2 separate regions of the Homo sapiens genome follow, and region 1 is linked to region 2. Evidence: promoter capture Hi-C in 16 types of primary human blood cells and fetal thymus (Javierre and others, 2016). All regions are on one chromosome and are shown on one strand. The core of a region is centred on a gene start or on the middle of the fragment in contact, and the rest is flanking DNA. Distances in the headings are between cores, read along the strand shown.

Region 1 (6,913 bases), core at 4,041-6,540, 490 kb before region 2:
ACACGGCTCACTGTAGCCTCGAACTCCTGGGCTTAAGCGATTCTCCCCCCTCAACCTCCCCAGTAGCTGGGACTACAGGTGTGCACCACCATGCTTAATTTTTAATTTTTTGTAGAGACAGGGTTTCACTGTGTTGCCCAGGCTGGTCTTGAACTCCTGGCCTCAACTGATCCTCCTGCTTGAGCCTCCCAAAGTACTGGGATTGCAGGCGTAAGCCACCACACTGACTCTATTTATAGATTAGGAACCTGAGGTTTAAGAAGCAGTGTCACTAGCCAAGGTCTCCGGGTGCCAGCCACAGGTGCCACAGCTCTGGGGCATCTGGTCTTCTCTGACATCACAGAGCCTCCTCAAAACCTTTGCATCAGGAGCTATTGACGCAGTTGGAAACATTCAGAATGGAGGAGAGAAAGCTAAGGGTTCCCAAGGACATTATCTGCACTTTCCAAACTGAAGAATTAGAGCAGGTGGGTGAGAATCATAATCACCTCTTTCTCCTCTTCCTCTTCTTTTCATCCTCGTCCATCTCCTTTTTCTATGTGTTGTTAGTATGACACAATTTACAATATTACCTACTTTATTCATAATGCCCCAAGTCTGACCTTTTCTGAACTAATTCTATTTCCAAATTAGATCTCAATTTAAAATAAAACAGCAATTTAAAAAAATTGGTCTAGTCCCAACACCATGATTTAATCTACTGTTTTTTCTTTCTATGACATGGATTAAGGAATGGGCTGGAAAAAAATATTTGCCCAATTATGATTCAACCTTTCCACATAATTGCTATTGTCCAAAACATAAAGACCAAGGATAATCGCAACTCTCGTGTCACCAAGGAGAGCAGGTGACATTTCCGGATTGCACATTGCAATCCATGCCATGCTATGCATGGTGCACAGAAGGGGGCCTACTTCTGCCCAGGAGCCACAGCCATAGCATGCCATTGTTGAGTCCATTGATTGCTCCTGGTGTTTAGATTCTCAGATTAAAAAAAAAATGTATGTAATCCCAGCACTTTGGGAGGCTGAGGCGGGCAGATCATTTGAGGTCAGGAGTTTGAGACCAGCCTAACCAACATGGTGAAACCCCTTCTCTACTAAAATACAAAAATTAGCTGGGTGTGGTGGCAGGTGCCTGTAATCCAGCTACTCTGGAGGCTGAGGCAGGAGAATCGCTTGAACCTAGGAGGTAGATGTTGCAGTGAGCCAAGGTAGCATCTCTACACTCCAGCCTGGGTGACAGAGTGAGACTCTGTCTCAAAACAAACAAACAAAAAAACAAAGCAAAACAAAAGAAAATGTAGAGTCTCTCCCAAACAGGAAACTAAAAGGCAAAGTCTCAAGCCATAAAAGGCTTCCGTCTCTGTTGCATTGCTGATGCCCTCTGTCTCCTGATGTTCTAGAGCAGAAGGGAAGATTGCGCCCACCTATGGGTTCCTCCAGCAGGCAGTCGTGGCGGGGACTGCGCTCGAGGAGCTCACCTTGATGGGAGCGTCTTCGGCAGGACCTGCAGGGTTATGCGGCAGGAACAAGTTAACCTCAGAATGGCGGCGGCTACAGAGGAGGTTGGGGGAGCTCTGCTCCACAAGGTCAACCAGAGAGGAGCTGACAGAGCCTTCACCATCTCAGTGCAGGGCTAGGGGTTCACCAAAGCAGGGAAGGGAGAACTGGAGAGGCCACCCCAGATCACCTCCACTCATAGCCCACTGGCCAGGACCACAGCCCAGAGCTGAAAGGGTTCTGGGAACTGTGGAGGAGCAGTCGTTATTTGTTGAGCAGCAAATGTCCCTGCTGCATGGACAGAGAAAGACAATAAACACAGGAATAAAGTGACATGAGAACTACCCTACAAAGCCAGGCCACGCCATGCAGGTCATGAGGGGTGTGCTGGTGTTTAGAGACCATTGGTTGAGGACTTGCCTGAGGGAAAGGTAGGGCACGGGCCCCTGAGCTCCAACCCTGACCTGCAATGACTCTTGTCCCCTCTCCCCCAACTGCTGCCATCCAGGCAGTTCCCACACCATCTGCCTTGAATGTGGGGCCCCCGGCTCCAGAGCCCTCACTGCTCTGCCGGGACTCCCCTCTACTCCTTGGCCACCTCTCTGCTCATCCCACTTTGGGGTACTCAAGGCTGAGCGGGTGACATTTCCCGGATCCCAATCTGTCAGGATGATGTTGAAATAGCAGCAAACTAAGATTCAAAAAGTTTAAAAAAGGAACTTCACCAGCTCACACTCCAGAAGGCTGCAGGGAGGACTGGTGCCAGGCTTGGACTCAGCTCCGCCTCTGCTGTGGGCCAGCCCTGCCCAGGGGACAGCAGGGTGGCTCCTTCTCTGAGTCCCCTTCTTTCCCAAAATTTCTCTGGAGTCACCTTGAGTGGCTGGACTGACTGCCTGGACTGAGCAAGCGTGGCAAACACTGCTGTTGCCTGTGCAAATCTGTTCCTCCTCCCTCATTGTTAACAGAATTCAATTTTGAAAATTTCTTTAAAAATGATGATGCTTAGGATCCTGAGATTTTCATCCTATGTTCTAGGCTAGAGCCAGGGCATCACTATATCTGGGTTATATGTTATTTGTTTGTTTTTTGTTTTTTGTTTTAGACAGAGTCTCACTCTGTCACCCAGGCTGGAGTGCAGTGGCACAATCTTGGCTCACTGCAAACTTCACCTCCCGGGTTCAAGTGATTCTCCTGCCTCAGCCTCCCGAGTAGCTGGAATTACAGGTGTGTACCACCACGCCCAGCTAATTTTTGTATTTTTAGTAGAGATGGGGTTTCACCATGTTGGTCAGGCTGGTCTCGAACTCTTGGCCTCAAGTGATCCACTCACCTTGGCCTCCCAAAGTGCTGGGATTACAGGCGTGCACCACCACGCCCAGCTAATTTTTAGTAGAGTATTTTTAGTAGAGATGGTGTTTCACCATGTTGGCCAGGCTGGTCTCAAACTCCCGACATCAAGTGATCTGCCCGCCTCAGCCTCTCAGAGTGCTGTGATTACAGGCACCTGCCCGGCCCCTCAGGCCTTTTTTGTAAGGGCACTAATCACCTCCCAAAGGCCCCAAACTCCTAATACCATCACACTGGGGACAAGGATTTCAACACCTGAATGCTTAGGGGGACACAAACATTCAGATCATAGCACCAATAAAAACAGATGCACAAGAAAGGGCGACCCCTCTCCCGCCAGAGAGTGGCATGTCTGGTTGTGAACTTGGAATGCACAGCCATCTTGTGGCCATGAGGACAGCCCTGAGGCGAGGCCGGCGGGCTGAGACCGGCTTAGTAGGGAGATGATGCCCCTGGGCTGCTCTGGGATGTGAATGAGCTGCTGGAGCTGCCTTCCCTTTAACAAATTTTCTTTTCCTCAAGCCATTTTGCCATTTTGAAGCATTTCCCATTACTTACATCTGAGAGCCTCTTATCTCTCCTCCTCTTACCGCTTGGTGTACTCCTTGTTCCAGTGTCTCCTGAACAGGGCGGGCTTGTTCTCCTGAGACTTCTGCTTAGACCTCCCAGCACCTCCTCCCTCCAAGTCTCTTCCTCCCCAGGACTGCAGGGCGTCAGCAGGGCCTCCAGACTGTAGACACCCGCGCAACGCCAGTCTTTGTGCAGATCCCTGCGCACACACACCACCCACCTGAGGCCACCCTGCAACTGTGAAAGTCAAGAACTCCCTGTCGGCCGGGAGCGGTGGCTCACGCCTGTAATGCCAGCACTTTGGGAGGCTGAGGCGGGCGGATCACTTGAGGTCAGGAGTTTGAGTCCAGCCTGGCCAACATGGTGAAACCCCGTCTCTACTAAAAATACAAAATTAGCTGGGCGTGGTGCTGCACACCTGTAGTTCCAGTTATTTGGGAGGCTGAGGCAGGAGTATCGCTTGAACCTGGGAGCTGGAGGTTGCAATGAGCCGAGATCTTGCCATTGCACTCCAGCCTGGGCAACAAGAGCAAAACTCCATCTCAAACAAACAAAACCTTCCTGTCATGGGCTCAATCCAAGGGAAGCTGGGACTGGGAAGCTGGCACTGCCATCACCACTGTAACTGCTTCTTGACACTCACAGAAGCGGCTGCTGGATAAGAGATCACTAGTGCAGGAAACCCAGCAACCAAAGCAGCCAACTCTTTTTTTTTTTTTCTTTTTTTTGAGACAGAGTCTCCCTCTGTCACCCAGGCTGGAGTGCAGTGGCTTGATCTCAGCTCACCACAACCTCCGCCTCCTGGGTTCGAGTGATTCTCCTGCCTCAGCCTCCCCAGTAGCTGGGATTACAGGCGCCTGCCACCACGCCCGGCTAATTAATTTTTTTTTTTTTTTAGTAGAGACAGGGTTTCAGCATGTTGGTCAGGTTGGTCTCAAACTCCTGACCTTGTGATCTACCCTTCTCGGCCTCCCAAAGTGCTGGGATTACAGGCGTGAGCCACCGCGCCTGGCCCGAAGCAGCCAACTCTCACACAAGTGCATCTGAAGTGCAGAACTTCATTCTTCCCTGGAACCCTGCCCCAGGGGAGTCTGGGAAATGTGGGTTTTAGCTGCTGCTGCATAGAGAGCTGTGAGCAGGAGGTGGAAGGGAAGCTGAGGGCCAAGTGATCGATCATACCCAACCATGTGAACGTGGGTGGCTGGCCCACCCCCGGGCCTATCTTTCAGCTACTAATTGGTTACCTCAGTGTTTGCCTCCTAGGGTTGGTGTGGATTAAATGAGATTGTGCAGGTAAAGCACTTGCGCCTAATCGGGGGCTAATGAATATTAGTTCTTATTATTTCCAATACTTTTTCCTTCTAGCTCTGTGGTTCTCCAAGCCTGAGCTGCTCAGACCTCTGAAATGGGCCCCAGAGGTCACTGGAGAGTTTGCAGAAGGTTCAGAAAGAATAGTCCTGAGAGGGATGACCCAGGCCCCTGCCTGCCTGGACACACCACTGTCTGCGCCCAGGCCTCTCTCTCAGCTATGCCAAGCAGCCGCTGATTCTCCAGCCAAGGGTGTTATATAAGCTTCATCTTTTCCTTTGTTTACAGGAAATTTTGAAAACACCAACTGGGCTTGGCCTGAGCTCCTTCATTCCTAAAGGCAACAGAAATTGTTTGGGCAGGAGAGGCAGCCACACGCAAAGCAGCTGCCCTGGCACAGGGCCAGGCCTTGCAGGACAGGCAGCTGCTGGCAATCGTGAGGTCAGGCACTCTTGTCGTTCAGGGCCAGGATCTGCGGTGCCTGGGGGAAGCCGTGTACTTCTGGATGTGCAGCTTTCACCCACACCCATTGGGCCCTGCCTTGGTTTCCCTGCCTGATGCTGCAGTTCTCTGCCATGATGGCAGCTCTCCACCCTGCCAGACCCTGCCTCTGGGAGGCCTGGGATGACCTGGGAGCACTTTCTAGGGTTCTGCCAACAGCTCAGACAGATCTCAGCCTCTTAGCAGAGCAGGAGGAGTAGGAGGCACCTCAGCCTGGGTGGGGTGGGAGGACAAGGGCAGATGGGAAGGAGATATCCCCTCTTCTCTGCTTTGACCCACGCTTCTAAGTGGACAGGTGGGGGAAAGCTCACACCCTTCGTTTCCTCACATGACAATGGGGCTGTGCAGGTGCCAAGCTTCCCGAACAACTGCCTTGCCCATCCTAGGAAAGTTGCCTAGGCCTGGTCCCCGGGAACTGCTTTAATGGAACATCTTCTATTTGAGCCAGGGCCAGACATGATCTCACAAGTCCTCATGTGATCTGCTGGGAAACAAATGTTTGTTGCTGGTAACTTGTGCTTGAGCAAGACAACAGCTCTCTGTTTCCCAAGGCTTGTATGCCTGATAGAAGTTTACAGGGTAGCTGACTGGTAGAAATTGGCACCAGGAGTAGAAGTTTCTACCAGAAATTCCCAACTGGATTTTCTACACCTTCCCTACCTTGGGAAGGCAAAGGGGTGAGGACAGAGAGACCTAGCCCCGGCTAGACACCCTGACAGTAGGAAGGCTGGGCCTTCCTGACCATTCTGACACTGAGTTCTTTTTCAGGCCAACAGTTGCTAGACAGACAGAAAAAAATATTTTCTTTCTAGTTCTGCTCCTAAACCTGTGCTCACTATGATGTAAGTTGGAGAGGTTTTTCCATAAGCACACATACTGTTACTCCTCTATCCAGTGTCCATGGCAGACATTACAAGTTGATCACCGCACTCTTGTTTGCTTTGCTGAATCCGCTGAATTCACAATATAGCAATGCAGTACAACAGAGTAGAACTGGCAGGCTGGAGAAAAGCTATCTGTCATCCCAGATGAAGTAGAAAGGATGTGCACTTGGATAGGAGACAGACTCAGCCTCATATTCTGAGTCTGCCACTTTCTAGCAGTGTGACCTTGGGCAAGTACTTTCTTTCTCTGAGCTTCAATCCTGTCATTTGTAAAATGGGAATAAGTATATCTGCCTGAAAAGGTTGGCATTAAATGAGATTAAATGAGATGTGTCTCGTGCTGCACAATTAGCACATAATGGAGGCTCCGATTCCTACATATATCATTACATCATCACATACACTCCTACACACCATTCAGACGTATTCTGTGGGGAATTTGTAGAAATGAAAATGCTAAACGCCAAGCCAAAGTTTTCTTTCCAAGCCAAAGGAGTCATCTTCTCCTTCTCCCCCCCCTCCTCCTCGTTCTCCTCCTCTTACTCCTTCTTCAAAAATATTTGTTATGTAACAAAATGTGTTATGCAGATTATTTAACCTACTTAAGAAAAGAAACCTGAGAACTTTTACAGTGTTCATTGATATATAAGTAATGTCTGGGCTACTTACAAATGAGTTTCATCTAGTCTATGTCTTTAAGACATCAGGAGCCAAGGACCCAGAATTTTAGCATGAAAGAAAAAAGGACCATAACATTGGATAAATGTCTACTAGGTTCCAGACACTTACATCTATGTTAGC
Region 2 (7,000 bases), core at 3,220-5,719:
GCTTACTTAACCTCTCTGGGCCTCAGTTTTTCTACTCACAAATGGGTGATAATCCCTATGTTAAATGTTGATGGAAATTACAGTGGTTTAAAAAAAGGCTGCTGAAACGGCTTTCAACATATACTTATTTCACTGTATTTGTTTTTCTAAGTTTCTATTTTTAGTTAACTTGAATGAACTAGTTAAGCAATAAAATTCCATTGACGAACTTATCAGAAAGTTTGTCAATTTTTTTTTTTTTTTTTTTTTTGAGACAGAGTCTTGCTCTGTCGCCAAGCTGGAGCACAGTGGTGCGATCTCGGCTCACTGCAACCTCTGCCTCCCAGGTTCAAGTGATTCTCCTGCCTCAGCCTCCCGAGTAGCTGGGACTACAGGTGTGCACCACCACGCCCAGCTAATTTTTGTATTTTTAGTAGAGATGGGGTTTCACCATGTTGGCCAGAATGGTCTCGATCCCTTGACCTCAGGGTGATCCGGCCGCTTTGGCCTCCCAAAGTGCTGGAATTACAGGCGTGAGCCACCATGCCCGGCAAGTTTGTCAATTTTCAAAAACTCAACAGATGGACATAAACATTCATTTCACAATGCATCTGACAAAAAACAAATGTGCTCTTCCCATCCTCAACCACCTTAATCATATCACCCCACCTCCCTCAGTCCACTGTTAACTTGCAGTGTGTCTCTTCATCCCCATGAGACTTGGTCCTCGAAGTAGGTAACAGGTATAATAACATTTTGGAGTCCAACAGATCTGTTCAAATCACTTACTGGCTGCGCGACCTCGAGCATGTAACTTAAGCTCCCTAGGCCTCAGTTTCCTCACCTGCAGATGAGGTGGATAAACCTATGCAACTGACACACAATTGCTGAACCAACAGTAGTGATTTCAGCAACAGTGCGACAGAACAGTAGGGAGCCATAAAAATGTGCTCCCCTGCCTCGAGGAATACTGGTGACAAACCTTTACTGAGCATCTACCATCTATCAGAGACCGAGCCTGGTACTGGAGAAGTAAAGACAAGCTGACCACTGGCCTCAAAGACGTCACAGTGTCACAAGAGCCCCAGATACACGGACAATGTCGTAAGTGCACCAGCAGACTGTGTGGGTTGGTGAAGGTAGGATAGCAGAGAAAAAGGGGCCAAACATCGGACGAGCTAGACGGCAAAGTATTGACAGAAGAGGTCTGTTTACACCGAATACATGAGTTAAAAGTCCAGCAGACAAAAAAGGGATACAAACTACGTAATTCCTCACATCTTTTCCAGCCTCAACTTCCCCGAATCCAAGGCCGGCCATGGTGGCTCACACCTGTAATCCCAGCACTTTGGGAGGCCAAGATAGGTGGATCACTTGAAGTCAGGAGTTCGAGATCAGCCTGGCCAGCATGGCAAAACCCTATCTCTACTAAAAATACAAAAATTAGCCGGGCATGGTGGCACACGCCTGTAGTCCCAGCTACTCGGGAGGTTAGGCAGGAGAATCACTTGAACCCAGGAGGCAGAGGTTTGCAGTGAGCCAAGATTGCGCCACTGCACTCCAGCCTGGGTGACAGCGTGAGACGCCATCTCAAAAAAAAAAAAATTCCCCAAATCCAAGCCCTTTGACTTCTCCAAGGCTCAGGGTCACCAGGTATACATGTCATAAAATGACAACAATCGTGGTCCTTCACACCCCTATACACCAGAGAGAAAGGTTATGGGGAACAGTGAGAACCGCCAGAAAACTTAGAAAATTTTAATGTACTTTCCAAAAGTATGACAAGGACAATTCCATGCATAAAAATCTCATAGTACTTCAGTTCACAACCGAAAGTTGCCGCTCCTCCTAATTAAAGTTAAAAAAAAAAAAAGTCCGAAAACTTTTCAACTTTTGCAGGACTCTTATCAGAATCCCAATTCTTGGGAAATCCTCCGCTCATTATGGAAGAGGGTTAGTGATAACAGAGAATTTCTACAAAGGTTGGGTCATTTTTCAAGGCTGCATACACGATGCTAGATATTATCACTTGAAAGTTTTACATTTCTTCACACCTCGAGTGCTTGGCCCAACACACACTGCTGGAAGTTTTCCACAGAGCTCTCCATCTGGCCAGCTCAGGCTTCAGAGAGGCAAAAAGCCTCTGTAAACCAGGGAAACTTGGTACATCCCACAAGACAATCCGAACTGGCTCCTGGTCCGGGGACTTGTGGGACGCAGTCCTGAATCATGCCTTACAGTAACTTACACTTTACCAAAATCTTTAATAACCAGTATCTCATTCCCTGCTTACAAAAGAATAGCCCAGTGAGACTGGTAAAGATGACTAGCCCAATTTTAAAACCAGGGAAATAAATAAGCTTTTAAAATGTAAAAGTAAAAATACAGATAAATAAAAGATTTAGGCCGGGAGTGTTGGCTCACGCCTGTAATCCCAGCACTTTGGGAGGCCGAGGTGGGCGGATCACATGAGGTCAGGAGTTCGAGACCAGCCTGGCCAACGTGGCGAAATCCCGTCTCTACTAAAAATACAAAGATTAGCCGGGCGTGGTGGATGGCGTGCGCCTGTAATCCCAGCTACTCCGGAGGCTGAGGCAGGAGAATCGCTTGAACCCAGGAGGCGGAGGTTTCGGTGAGCCGAGATCGTGCCACTGCACTCTAGCCTGGGTGACAGAGACTCCGTCTCAAAAAAATAAATAAATAAAAAATTTAAAAGTTTAGGTGCGCTTCCCCAACACAATCACTTGTCCCAAAAACAAGCACCGAACAAGTACCATTCAGAAGCAAATTGTAGTCCCTTTTGATGTTCATTTAAATACAGATGAAAACTTAATTATCAATGCTAACTCAATCACTGCTGTGCCAGATTCAGCATAAGATTTTGTCAGCACCTAAAATTCTGTATCTAGAGCTACAAGAGGCACGTTTTCTGCCAAATCTTCGTTATATTACATAATGAGAGGAAGCTTGGATTCTTAAAATTCACCTTTTCCCATCATTTTAACACCCTGTTCCAATCCCTTCTTTCACAGGATATTTTCTGGAGGTGAAAAGGAATAACTCATTACTTCTCATATTTTCCTGCCCACTTTCTTGCATAAATATTAAAAATAAAGGGGAAGGTAGGGTCCTGAACATCTCCCTAAAAGATAAAAAAGTTATTAAATGTGGTAAACAGAGCCTGGAGACCTAGCTTCTAGTTCTGCACTGACACAGTATCACTGCGTGACCTTGGGCAAATTACTGCAGTTCTGGGCCTCAGTTTCCCTCATCTGAACCCTAATGATGGTTAAGCCCTCTCCGCTCTTAAAGCACAGATTTTAGATACGTCCCCAGGGAAGCACAACTGTGAAGGAGTCGCCCAGACGGACTCCTTGGGCGGAGAAACGGCCTTCCACAAGCTCCGGCGGGGGGATTCACAGGGAGCTCAAGCTGCCCCAGGGAAAGCCACTGGGCAAACTTCAGGTCGCAAACAAAAACCTGTTGGCACCGACTCCTCTAGCAAAGGCCAGCCTCCCAACGCGCTCGGCTCTCGGCTCTAGGGGAGCCGCCCCACAGGGAGAGAGAGGAAGTCTCTCCTGGAAGAGGCCAGACCCCACGCACCCATTCACCCACCCGGATCAGCCGAGCAGGACCGCCGGGCCGGGTGGGTCTCTGCCATCCCACGCGGAACAAAAGGCAGCTGGAGCCTGGCTCTTCCGCCCCCGTCCCCGCTGTTCCGTGGGAGTGGGGGCTGGGGAGTGGGGAGCCTGGTCCCCAAGGACGGAAGGGGGCCCTGCTACAGCCCCCAGGAAAGGTGAGACGGGCGGGATCCCGGACAGAGATAAGGACCCCTCCCCCGATTCCCGGAGGGCGCCCGGACCGGGCTCTGCACGGGGGCTGGCGGGAGACCAGGCTGGGCTCAGGAGGAAGGGGCGCCGGGCTCGGGGAGAGGAGGAACGTGCTCTGGGGAGGGGGCGGGGTTGTTCCAAGATGAACGGGGCTCCAGGATCCGAGGTAGGAGTAAGGGGCGCCCTGGACTCTGGGGACATAAAAGGAGATGCTCGGTGATAGGGACGGGTAAGGGGGGAGATCCTTGCAGCGGAAAGCTGGATCCAGATGGGAAGGGGGCCATGCTCCAGTCCGTGGGGCGGGGCCTGGTTGGAAAGAAGGGGATCCCCCAGAGCCTGGCGTAGGGACCAGCGGGGCGGCAGGGGCGCATGCCCTGGCGGGGCTGGTGAGGTAGGGGAGCCTGTGCTCTGGGGGCGTCCGCGCCCTGGAGAGGGGGAGGGTCCTCGCCCCGGGGACTCGCTCTGGCCTTGGAGCCCCACGGGCTGTGGCTCACCTCTGCTCCTCCGGGCCGGCGTGGGTGCGCCGCTGCGGCCACCGGCAGCGCTCGAGAGGCGGGAGCGACCGTAGCCCGCGGAGCCGCCGCCACCGCCGCGTCTGGCTCAGTTTGACACCCACACACCAGCCAACATGGCGGCCGGGAGGGGGCGCGCCGGACGCGTGCGCGCGCCCTCAGGCCCCGCCCCCGAGGCCCCGAGGTCCCGCCCCCACGCCCGCAGACCACGCCCCTGCGACCCCGCCAGAGCCCCTCCCTAGTGGCCCCTGCGCGGCTTCCCCTCCGCCTCCTGCGCTCCAGGACCCCACGCGGACGACCCACCCTTCCGCAGCGCCCCACAGTCGACGCCCGAGCCCCCAAAAAACCCCCAATCCCGAGCGCCACACAAACCCTGGCAAATTAATACCCGAACGCGCGCACTCTAATCCCCTTCAGGCCACTCCACCCCGTACACACTCACGGCCCCCCCACACTCACGGCCGGGCAGCACGCGCAGACCCCGCCCCGTCAAGCAGAAACTCACGCTCCGGCCTGCCGGTTTCACTCAAAAACCTTGTTCAGTAGGAGAGACTGGAAGGGGGCCAGGGCCTGCCGGGCGCTGGTAGGGTTGGGTTCTTAGGCTACAAGTGTGTTCACTTTATGAAGATGCGCGGAAGTACACTTTGGATTTGTGCGCTTTTCCGTGCGTGTATTTCACGTCAATAAAATATACTCAAAAACGGAGAAGTCTCTAGGCTTCTTTAGGCTGCTCAAGGGGTTACCTAAGGGCACGAATGGCAAGGGGTTACCTACATGGCACGAAAACGGAAACCCTTGACTGGCGGGCACCCACAAAGCACCTCCTCTGTGCCAAGCCCTGTGCTGGGCACAGAAATGAGACAGCCCCAAATGCCTCGAATGAGAGTCCCGGAACTGGAGGGGCCAGAACTGGAGGCTGCACCTCAAAGCTGACTAACCTGCTCCAATCAGGGTGGGAGTCAGCAGAGACTTCTCACAGCAGGGGCGCGGAGCATGAGTCAGGGCTTGCTAGGTGGGCAGAGGGCACCATCCCTGTTGCCTGGGTGACATCAACACTCTGCCTAGCCTTGGCTTCAGGGAAGCTGTGGCCAGAAGTCTTCCTCTGCCCTAACTCACTGAGGGACCTTAAACAAGTCACTGTACTTCTCTGAGCCTCAGATTCCTCCTCCCTGTACAGGAACCAGGGGATGAAAGTATCCCTTAAGGTTCTAACAACCCAGGATCTGGAATTCCATTCTCTGGCAAAAAAAAAAAAGGTTGTATCTTTCCAGGAATTCATCTATTTATTGTAAGTTTTTTAGTGTGTGTGCATAGACGTGTTCATAATAGTTTTTGAGGGCTTTTTTGTGTTTGTATGGGGTCGGTGGTAATGTCCTCTTTGCCCTTTCTGATTATGTTTACTTGTATCTTCTCTTTTTTCTTTATTAGTCTAGCTAGTGATACAATAAATACGATAAAAATGGAGAGAGCTTGTAACACGTTTGCAAAACCACATAGCCACTTTTCCTTTGAAAAGTCAAACACTGGTAGCTCTAGATGCTAGAAACACTCTCCAGTTAACCACCCTTCCCACTGCTTGGTGCCCCTTCTCCACCAGCAGAGGGAATTATGCCCTATGTGCCTGCCTTGCAGCAGAAGCCGGAGCTCCCCGTTTTGAACTTGGTCCACCCTCATCCCAGAGAATGCCCTCAACCAGTCCAACATTCCTTGTGAGCCTCACCTCTTTACCCCATCTCCAAGGAAAGCAGAACTTTACACTGCAATCATGCTTCTGCCCTGAGTTTACAATGTCAGATGAGTTATAACACAGAGCTGATGCACAGCACGGGCGTGATGCTTCTAAATCAGCACTGTTCAGCAGAATTTCCCTCCACGATGGAAATGTTCTTTCTGCGTGCTGTCCGTAGGATAGCTACGAGTCACAGGAGGCCAGCGAGCACTTGAAATGTGGCTAGTGAGACTGAGGGGCTGAATTTTTTAAACTTCATTAAACTTTTATTAATTTAAATGTAAATAGCCATATGTGGCTAGATGCTACCATGCTGACCAGTGCTGGTCTAAAACCTTACCACAATTCCACAAGTGCACATTCTTTTTTTATTTATTTGTTTTGAGACGGAGTCTCACTCTATTGCCCAGGCTGAAATGCAATGGCACAATCTCAGCTCACTGCAACCTCCATCTCCCAGGTTCAAGTGATTCTCCTGCCTCAGCCTCCCACGTGGCTGGGATTACAGGCCCGCACCCCCACACCTGGCTAATTTTTGTATTTTTAGTAGAGACAGGGTTTCACCATGTTGGCCAGGCTGGTCTCGAACTCCTGACCTCGTGATCCTCCCGCCTCAGCCTCCCAAAGTGTTGGGATTACAGGTGTGAGCCACCGTGCCCAGCAAGGTGCACATTCTTGCTGTTCACATTTTACAGACAAGAAATTGAGGTTTGGAGATATGCTGGGGCTTGGCCACCCAGGCCCACTTTTCCATATGCAGAGCCTAATACTCCCTTCACTACCCACCTAGCAAGTGTGTGTAGCCGCACAGATAATATGCAAGCCTGGAAAGAGAACTGGATACAGATAATGAGATGATGAGCTAACCTACAGGACAGGAAGTGAGTTGGAGAATACCAGATTAGCCCAGGCTTGGGAAGTGGAGGAGGGTGTCCTGAGGCCGGAAGACC

Evidence for each region. Contacts are between HindIII fragments. The CHiCAGO score rates a contact against its expected background, and 5 or more counts as called.
Region 1: a contact is called between a fragment that was not itself captured here and the fragment with the promoter of EPN2 in region 2, in 1 of 17 cell types (megakaryocytes). The highest score is 5.2, in megakaryocytes.

What each region holds. Positions count from the first base shown.
Region 1 is chr17:19,726,423-19,733,335 of GRCh38, reverse strand. No RefSeq gene overlaps it. Among named protein-coding and RNA genes, the nearest start is that of SLC47A2, 13 kb to the right of the region's middle. The HindIII fragment of the contact is 593 bases long and covers 4,994-5,586 here.
Region 2 is chr17:19,234,835-19,241,834 of GRCh38, reverse strand. EPN2 (epsin 2) reads right to left here and starts at 4,469. Exons shown (of 11, transcript NM_014964.5): 1 at 4,304-4,469. RefSeq lists a silencer at 4,092-4,561. The HindIII fragment of the contact is 5,263 bases long and covers 2,948-7,000 here.